2 separate regions of the Homo sapiens genome follow, and region 1 is linked to region 2. Evidence: promoter capture Hi-C in 16 types of primary human blood cells and fetal thymus (Javierre and others, 2016). All regions are on one chromosome and are shown on one strand. Each heading gives the region's core, a stretch centred on a gene start or on the middle of the fragment in contact. The rest is flanking DNA. Distances are from core to core; before and after follow the strand shown.

Region 1 (4,401 bases), core at 898-3,397, 400 kb before region 2:
CTTTGGGAGGCCGAGGCAGGCGGATCACAAGGTCAGGAGATCGAGACCATCCTGGCTAACACGGTGAAATTCCGTCTCTACTAAAAATATAAAAAAAAATTAGCTGGGCGTGGTGGCGGGCACGTGTAGTCCCAGCTACTCAGGAGGCTGAGGCAGGAAAATGGTGTGAACCTGGGAGGCGGAGCTTGCAGTGAGCCAAGATAGCGCCACTGCACTCCAGCCTGGGCGACAGAGCAAGACTCCACCTCAAAAAAAAAAAAAAGAAAATAAAATAATCTTCCAGTTTCTAGTAATCAGAAATCAGTGGAGCATTAATAATAACAAAAATACTTTTGTTCAGCTGAATCATATATATGTCTATATCAATATCCATCTTTCTCTATCAGTTGTCTATATTTCTGAATAGATATATGCACACATGTATGCGCATTAGTATTTTTCAAGTCACTGCTTTGACAAAGAGTTCATACTGTTGCACACCGTTCTGTTTACAAAAATAACAAATGGAAACAGTGTGATTCCCTGAAACATTAGAAACTAGATGTAATCAATTGTTGAGAATTTAAGGGAAATTCCTGCTGTATGAATTGGATGGTGTGGTGTAATGAGTCTCTCTTTAATCTTACCCATTCTACCAAATTTTATTCATAAGCTCTTTCTCATAGCAAACGTTAGTGCATAAACATTCTGTTTTCACTTAACAGTGACCAAAGATTCATGTTTATTCTCTTTCAAGTAGGTAGCCTTGTCAGATGATATGCAAATGATTCACATCAGTGTTTGAAGTTCAAACCAAGGAAAACTGTGAGTATACACAAAATGTCAGAGTGTTTTTCTCTTGGCAAAGAATGCTGGGAATCTTACGATTAATTCCATACAGTAACAACTCAGCAAGTGTTGGCTAAAAATACTTGCTTTTACTGCAAAAGTACTAACACAAATCTAATTTTAAACGATACAATAATTTTTACATTTTCCCCTTCAGAGAGGTGAAAAGTATTGTCAAGTTGAATAATCTGTTAAGCTAAAATGACAAACTTTCACAGTGTTTATTCTGTTTCCTCTTTTCCAATATTCTTTACATATCTTTGTCAGTAACCACTCATTACATTGTCTAAGACCAACGGAATTGGCACAGAAGTGAAAAACAGAGAAGAATTATCATTTTAAGCAGCAACTGATGTTCATTGGGGATTTATGTTATTTCAATATTTACAACAATTTTTTAAAAAAGCTTTATTGAGATATATTTCACGTATCATTGTAACCACTTTTTGAAGACAATATTTTACCCTCATTTTGTAGATGAGGAAATGGTGCTCAGACCAGTGAATTCATTTCTAAGCATTGGTCTGAAGTTACGTCTGTCTATTTTCAAAGACTGCGTTCTTTCTATTGCACTCCAGTGCCTCTGCTGTGATGAGTCCAGTCACTCTTTTGGCAGGAATCATGGCACTGGTAAAATTTTCTATGAAGGGTGAAGAATAGGATACAGGGTCCCAAGACACAACTTGTAAGCTATCAGAGATTGGAGTCTCAAGACATCTGATTGAGAGGAGAAGATTCTTGAATGGGCCCAGTTGGCAAAGTTATTTCTATATGCACTGGAATAACCAGGAGGGAGAGACCAGAGGAAAAGCAAGGGGTCCTCTTGTGCCACTTTTTATACAGTATTTCATTTGATCCTTATGAACAGCATGTGGGGTTATTATATGTTGATAGTAATACTAATTATTACCTATTTTAGTTTAGTTCTTTACAGATGATAAGTAGAGTTCCAGAAATGTTCAGTATCTTTCCAAGTTTATACTAGAAGGACTGTAACCAGAGAATTGTAACTCCAAAGCCTATATTCTTTCTACTTTACAAAAATGCATTTACATAAAAGAAAGGAAAGACATTGCTGACTGATGACAACCAGTGAGGTCTCCTGATATACTGTCAAGTGTTCTAGGAAGCAGTGGAGCTTTGCAGAGAAAACAAATACAGAATTTGGCTCAGTTTGCTAGAAAAGACCATGCAAGTGAGGACCCTACAGTTACAGCTTTATTAGCCACACTATAAACCCACGTCTTGTCCACCCCTTCTGAATTGGGGGTTGATCTTTATACCTTTTGAAAAGTACAACCCAGAACACGTTTTTTGCACTGAAGGGTACAGGAAAGAAAAATGACTGCAGGTCCATAACTACACAAAGTCATATCCAACTACTCTTGCAATAATTAAACTTGTCCAATCCCAGGGACAAGATTTGTAGCTAATTTATTTCTCAGAGTTTGCTTGAAACATCTATTGCTTAAAGTTAAACCTGAGAGACATATCACTGGGAATATTTTATGGCAACAGTGGGGATTAGGTAAAAGAAGTCATTAAATGTTTTTCACAATGAAAGTACTACAGCTTTGCTCTGTGGCCTTGAAAGTTGGAAATGTATGCTCTTGTGTGGGAGCAGTAACAAAACTGTTTCTGAGGAAAACTGCAGTCCCTATCATGGCACAGCATGCAGAAGTAGAATGATCTTCTGCTCAGGCTACATTTTAGCTACTCATCTCAATTGTCATCTCAAATTTACTCATCTCAATTTTCACAAGAGAACGTGACTCCTATCTTTAACTTAGTGAATTGTTTGGGTCTTCAAAAGAAAAAGCTGCTCTGGATCTTAGGCCTAGAATGTCTCAGTCAGCTCTGACTTGAAAAGTGGAAAGGGAAACTCTGTTGAGAGGAACCAAGCATAGTGGGCTTTACTGGACTAGGTCCTGTCCTTTTGGGATTGTAACCTGACATGTGTGCTTATCTTAGAATAGGGAGGCAGATAGCTGTCTAGCTGGGCCCACTCTTCTCCACCTGACTTGACAGAATTGCCTTTGGGTGAGATGACATCAACACACATTAAGAAAGAGCTCCATTAAAGAGATTTACTGTTGAACATACTGTAAAAGGTGGGACCGAGGATACTGTCCCCAGTAGTTACATGCTCCTCTTCACCCCTCTTTATTCCAGGTATTGCTGGTGCTGCTGTTAAGTGGCTTCTTTGTGTTCTATGATCACTGTGAAGCTTGTAACTAATCATGTTTACCTTATTTTGGTCACTTTCAGAAAGTGGAGAGCCAAATGTGTGGACTACTGCTAATAGGTATACTGGAATTTACAGCATGATGTTTGTGAAGTTGCTTTTATTTGAAGTTGTCCTACCAACTTCCTGCAAATGTCACCCTTATTTATTCACTTATTTTGTTTTTAAATTTTTTTTTTTTTACTGAAGAATAATATACACTTACTTGTTGTTTAAACTCATTGTGTTATTTGACTATTTGTAAATTTCTCAACATATTTTTAAGCCAAGGAAGTGCATGTGTGTTGTGGGTATGTTCATGCACACACACGTGTAAAATGAACATACTGTAGGGAATTCAAATAAAAAAGACAAATAACTATCAACCTCTCTGCAGCTTGGTTCATCATCTGTAAGATGAGCATTCTTCATCCAAAATAATGCTTTTCTCCTTTCTTCATGGCCCCTTGTAATTTTAGTCATTTCTCTGGGTCTGAAGAGTAAAGGTTGCCAACTCTGTGAACAAGGACCAGCTACATAATTTGCAGCACCAGTGAAAAATGAAAATATGGGACCTCTTGTTCAAAACATATTAGGTATTTCAAGATGGCAGTGGCAGAGCATTACACCAAGCATGGGGCCTATCCAAGAGTGGGGCTCTGTGTTATTGCACAGGTCACATGCCCATGATGCAGGTCCTGCTGTGAACTTGGAGATCTTCCGGGGTCAACACTGTGGCTTGATACTACTCTCCAGCAACAGGGTCAGGGTGTAGTCTCAAATTTCGCTTCCTCTGGAAGAGAAGTTTTAACCTATAGGTAGAAAGTGTTGTGTAGAGTTCAAAAATGTGTTTGCTAGTATCTAGTATCCTTAAGTTCAAAGACTGGTTTGCTACTTAGTAGCTTTATAATCTTGGGCATATAATGTCCCTAAGACTTTATTTCCCTACCTTTAAAATGAGGATAATGGAGGCCAGGCATAGTGGCTCATGCCTGTAATCCTAGCACTTTGGGAGGCCAAGGCAGGCAGATTGCCTGAGCTCAGGAGTTCGAGACCAGCCTGGGCAACATGGTGAAACCCCATCTCTACTAAAATACAAAAAATTAGCTGGGCGTGGTGGCATGCACCTGTAGTCCTGGCTACTCAGGAGGCTGAGGTAGGAGAATTGCTTGAACCCGGGAGGTGGAGGTTGCAGTGAGCTGAGATCACACCACTGCACTCCAGCCTGGGCGACAGAGCAAAATTCCATCTCCATTGAAAAAATAATAATAAATTAAAAAAAAAATAAGGATGATGGTAGAGCCAACTTTCTAGAATTGTTGCAAGTAAACAAGAAAAGCCATGCATGA
Region 2 (4,502 bases), core at 489-2,988:
AAACTCAAAACAGCAGTTTCCTCTATAGAAAATAATTGTTTTTATTTGTAAAAATATTTGTTTTATTGTGAATTATTGTTAGTTACTTATGTGAAGATGAGTTGAATTTCTTCCATATACAAAATCAAAAGTTTTGGATTTCTAACCAATGACCCAGAATCAATCAGGATTGGTTTTTATCAGGCATATGATAACCAATCTTATATTCCAAGCCATCACATTCAGAGATAAAATGTTAACCGCAATATATGTTTTGTTTGTTTCTTTTTCTCTGTGAAATTCAACTATTGTTAATACCATCCCTGTGTTCTCTACAAAAGTTTATTTCCCTTCCTATATGTCTCCATTAATCAATTCATTTAATATTACAACTTGTTGTCTTCCTAACAGAGAAGCATTTTTTTCCTAAAGAAAAGAAGTGACTAAACACAAAGCAAAACTTCAACAACATATATGCTGTATTATTTATGCATATAAATTGGATCATTTAGATGACTTCTGTATTATTTAAATTAAATAAACTTTACATCATTAAAGCCATACACTAATGAGGTACTTTAGCATGTCTTTGAGGATTTAAAAGCATAGAAATGAATCCACTAATTATCATTCAGTACCAATGTTTATTTGTACTCCAAATATCACAATAACTGAAGCTCTTTAAGGCCTAACAAATTGTAACTCTTCTTCCTTACATTTGTTTTATTTTTAAGAGAAAAGGATTCAAATTTTTAAATTATAGAATATAAACATATGAAAAAAATTATAGTGTAGAATTGAGTTTAAACTCTAAAAGAAGCCCTTAATCAAATTTAAGAAAACTGAAACTGGCATTTATGTTACAGAACTTATGCTATAGGTCACCGAGCTTTTATGTTCTCATCATGGGAGCTTTAAGAAGCCTCTAATAGAGGCGCCTGCACTGCACTGATGTATAGAAGTCAACATTCCCTAGTCTTGTGTTATTGTACCCTAACCTCATCTTCCTTTGTTCTATTTTCCTTCAGTCCATGTCGAACTGGAGAACCCAGTTTTTGAGAAAGATGACCCACACCCAAAACCCTCTCTTTATCCCACTTCCTAGATCTCCTTGATAGAATACCTTGAGATTTTTCATAAAACTAGAGTAATGAAAATGGGGTCTAAACACAGCGATCCCTAGACATCTAGAGTCTCATAGGCATCAAAAGACAATGCAAAAATATCCCAGGCCAAGCTGGACTGGCCCCTGCCCTAAAGATTCTGATGAAAGTAGACTGTCAAAAATAATTGTGCATTAAGCCAGACGTGTTTTTTTTTTAAATAATGCCTGTTCTAATGCATACACATCTCTTGAATTTTGTTGAGAATATATAATCCCAGCTCAGTTGGGTCTAGCTATGCCTCCCAGAACGTGTGGTCACGCTCCTAGGGGAAAGCAAGGGTCTGTGGCTGGAGAGGAACAAAATCACCGTGGAGGTGTGGCCCCCATCAACTGCTTCTTCGCCCTACGACACGGAAGGTGACAGGCTGTGATGGCCGGGAGTGGACATTCCTTGTAAGCAGGCTTGAATCTAGCTCTCCTAGACAGGGGAGTTCCTTGGTGAGGGGCCTTGAGAGTCCTAGTGACATTAGGAGTCTGGCTTTTTCCACCCCCCTGGGGTTTCCGTCTTTCTTTGCTCACTGCTCCCCCTACCCCGCGTACAAGCTAAAGAAAGTTTTTCTCAGAATGAGCCCGCGTTGACGTAGGCATCGCCTCCCCTCTCCGCTGGATAGAAGCCCAGAAAGGAGCCACGGGGAGAAGCGGAGGTAGGGGTCGCCTGGATTTCTGTTGCTGCGGTCCGGGGGCGGGGCGGATCAAAGGCCAGCCAAGAGTACTGGTCCTGGATCTACAAATACATTAGGCTTTTTCCTCCTCCGTCAACCTCCTAAACCCCAATGAGGTCATAGCAATGAAAGAGAATCAGCTCGAGAGAAAGGAGGAGGAAGAGGACGACGACGAGGGAGAAGAAACCCAGACGGAAAGAGGCCATCAGACAAGGTCGCTTTTTCTGGCGACAAAGCAACTGCAAGGAGCGTGGTGCTGAATATCATCCGCCCGCTCTGCCTGGGGACCCAGAGACTTGCAGAAGCACTTCGCATTGCCACGAAAACAAAGGAGAGGTGACGAACGGGAGAGGGAGAGAGAAACTCGGAGCGGTTCCCTTTGGATCTCCGGGAAGCAAAGCTCCTCTCCTCGGCAATAAAACAGAAGGGACCCTGTGAAAGGGTCTAGTAGGCTGAGGAGGGCGCGGGTTTCCCTGCGGAGATTTGGGACGCGGCAGAACTCTGGACAGCGCCTGGGGAGCAAGGCTCGGAGCTCCCTGGGCTCCTCCAGGTTTTCCGCTGCTTAAAAGCCCCGGTACCGGTGTGCAATCTTCGCACCACCGAACCCAGGAAGATCCTTCTACGATCCCTATCTGAACGTGCCAGGGGGTGGAGCAGCTCCTTTGCCTCTGGCCCAGCCAGGGAAGGTCTTCGTTTCTGGAAATCCAGCCCTTGTGGATAATGCCTCGCTCTTGAAGAAAGAAAAGTTTTGGGATCTGGTAGGGGGTGGAAGGGGTAAGGAGGATAGTGGAAGAAAAAAAGGTAGATGGTTGATTTCCCTCTCTGATCTGGAAGGAAGATGACCGAGGAAGGATGTGCACCAGCGGTCAGATTATTGGGAGCCTCTTGGTGCTCTCCGTGCTGGAGATAGGGCTGGGGGTGTCCAGCGTGGCCGTGGGGGCGGTCAGCTTCAGCCTGGCCCTCCGAGAGCACAAGCCGCAGCTCGGAGACTCGTCCCCGGTATGGAGCGGGGTGTGTGTACGTTGAGCCATTTCACTCTCTCTTTACCTCTTTACGGTGATGGTCAGGGTGCGCGCATTAGTCACTCCCTCCCTGGGAAACAAAATCATAGATCTCTGGCTTGCATGTAGGTTCATGCTGACAAGCTATGCTTCTTTATATTGTCCTTTATTCGTTTTCTGTTTTGTTTTGTTTTGTTTTGTTTTGTTTCTTACTTGGGCTTAAGACCAAATTAAATGGCTTTGTTTAAAGGTGGGGGTGGGGGGTTAGTTTCCACTGGCTGATTCTACAAAAGGCTGCTTTGCCCAGTGGTGCTGTTTGGGAGGCGGGGGGAGGGGGGTGTCACACCTGTCAAGGGCAGGCTCACTTAATCTTTTGTTCCTTCTACAAGGAAAATCAAAATAAGAGTATTCCATCATTTTTTTGTATCAGGGAACAAGCAGGGATAGTTATGCATTTATCCCTGGGCAATAATGCCCAAGGTACACCAGAGGCAACACCAATAACAAAAACAGAAACGTGGTGTGAGTGTGAAAGGAAGTTTGTGGGTGCATTTCATTCCAGAAAACATTGCTGTTAATTTTCCTTTGCTACATTTCTGATATTTCACCTCTGAAAACGCTTTTGTAAGTTCTAGACAGTAAGTTAGAAAAACATCAGATGGTAAGACGTGTAATAACATTCTAAATGGAGAATAATTCTGCTTACAGAGTACCTAACTGCTCAGAGAAACTGTCATAGTTATCTCTAGGTCAGATGTCAGACTCAACAAGCTTCTTTTTTACTAGGATGAATCTCCAAGAAAGCCTTAGAGACCCATTTCTTCCACCAAGATTCAATAAAATAACTCAGCACCATTCCTAATGTGAATCTAATTGTGAAAACCAGTTTTTTCCTTCAAGCTATATATGTGTCATATACTTCTGGATGCCTAGCTTGATCCTACTTTTCAAGATAATTCAATAGAAAGTATTCTGTCACTGATAATCTGTAGCATGTTTAACCATCATGGCTTAATCACTTGAGCTTTAAGTCACTAAAAGAAAATGATTATTACGGAGTTCAAGAAAAATTATTCAAAAGTAATTCATTTTTGAAAGATGCTGTAACTTTTTTTTGAAACTGGCAAAATTTTGCTTTGGATAATTAGATTTATATATTTTTTCAGGTGAGATAAATGTTTTTAAATTGCAGAACTACAAAAAAGAAAAATAGTGTTCAATCCTAACATTGAATTCATCCAAGAATCCTTACTTTGAATTCAATAATAAGTTACTATCAGCCTCCAAATAATTATCTTGTTCTTTGTCATGTAATTTTTGTCAATGTATATATTAAATTTGAGTTTGAAAGGATAAAGATATCTTAAATCTGATAATTGTTCATTTTATATGTGGCAGTAATTATTTGGAGAGTTGTAGTTATTGTTCTTGTTTTTGTTGTTATCATATAAACAGAAATAACGCTTTAAAACTTCATTGAACAACTGTCAAAATGAAGTGTAATGTCAACATTTAGGGAAAGAGGGAGAAAAGGTGATCTTATGATATCTTAATGGGGAGAAGCCTTAAATACTCTACAGCTCAATCCCCGCCCCCAACGAAATTCAACAAATTGAGTCAATTAAGTTAGGTTTTCCCTAGATAATATCAAAGTATCCAGCTTATCTTTGAGAATTAAAAAATGGTTATGTTAGC

The links. The method cuts DNA at HindIII sites, captures the fragments that hold promoters and counts their contacts. A CHiCAGO score of 5 or more calls a contact.
Region 1: a fragment that was not itself captured here is called in contact with the fragment with the promoter of TMEM196 in region 2 in 1 of 17 cell types (fetal thymus); the score reaches 6.2 in fetal thymus.

The regions. Positions count from the first base shown.
Region 1 is chr7:20,167,117-20,171,517 of GRCh38, reverse strand. MACC1 (MET transcriptional regulator MACC1) reads left to right here. Exons shown (of 7, transcript NM_182762.4): 2 at 740-804. Among named protein-coding and RNA genes, the nearest start is that of MACC1-AS1, 27 kb to the right of the region's middle. The HindIII fragment of the contact is 1,821 bases long and covers 1,237-3,057 here.
Region 2 is chr7:19,770,853-19,775,354 of GRCh38, reverse strand. It overlaps TMEM196 (transmembrane protein 196), which reads left to right and starts at 1,738. Exons shown (of 5, transcript NM_001363562.2): 1 at 1,738-2,805. The coding sequence starts at 2,659. All of the region lies in intron 1 of LOC107986774 (a long non-coding RNA gene), which reads right to left. The HindIII fragment of the contact is 8,082 bases long and covers 1-3,580 here.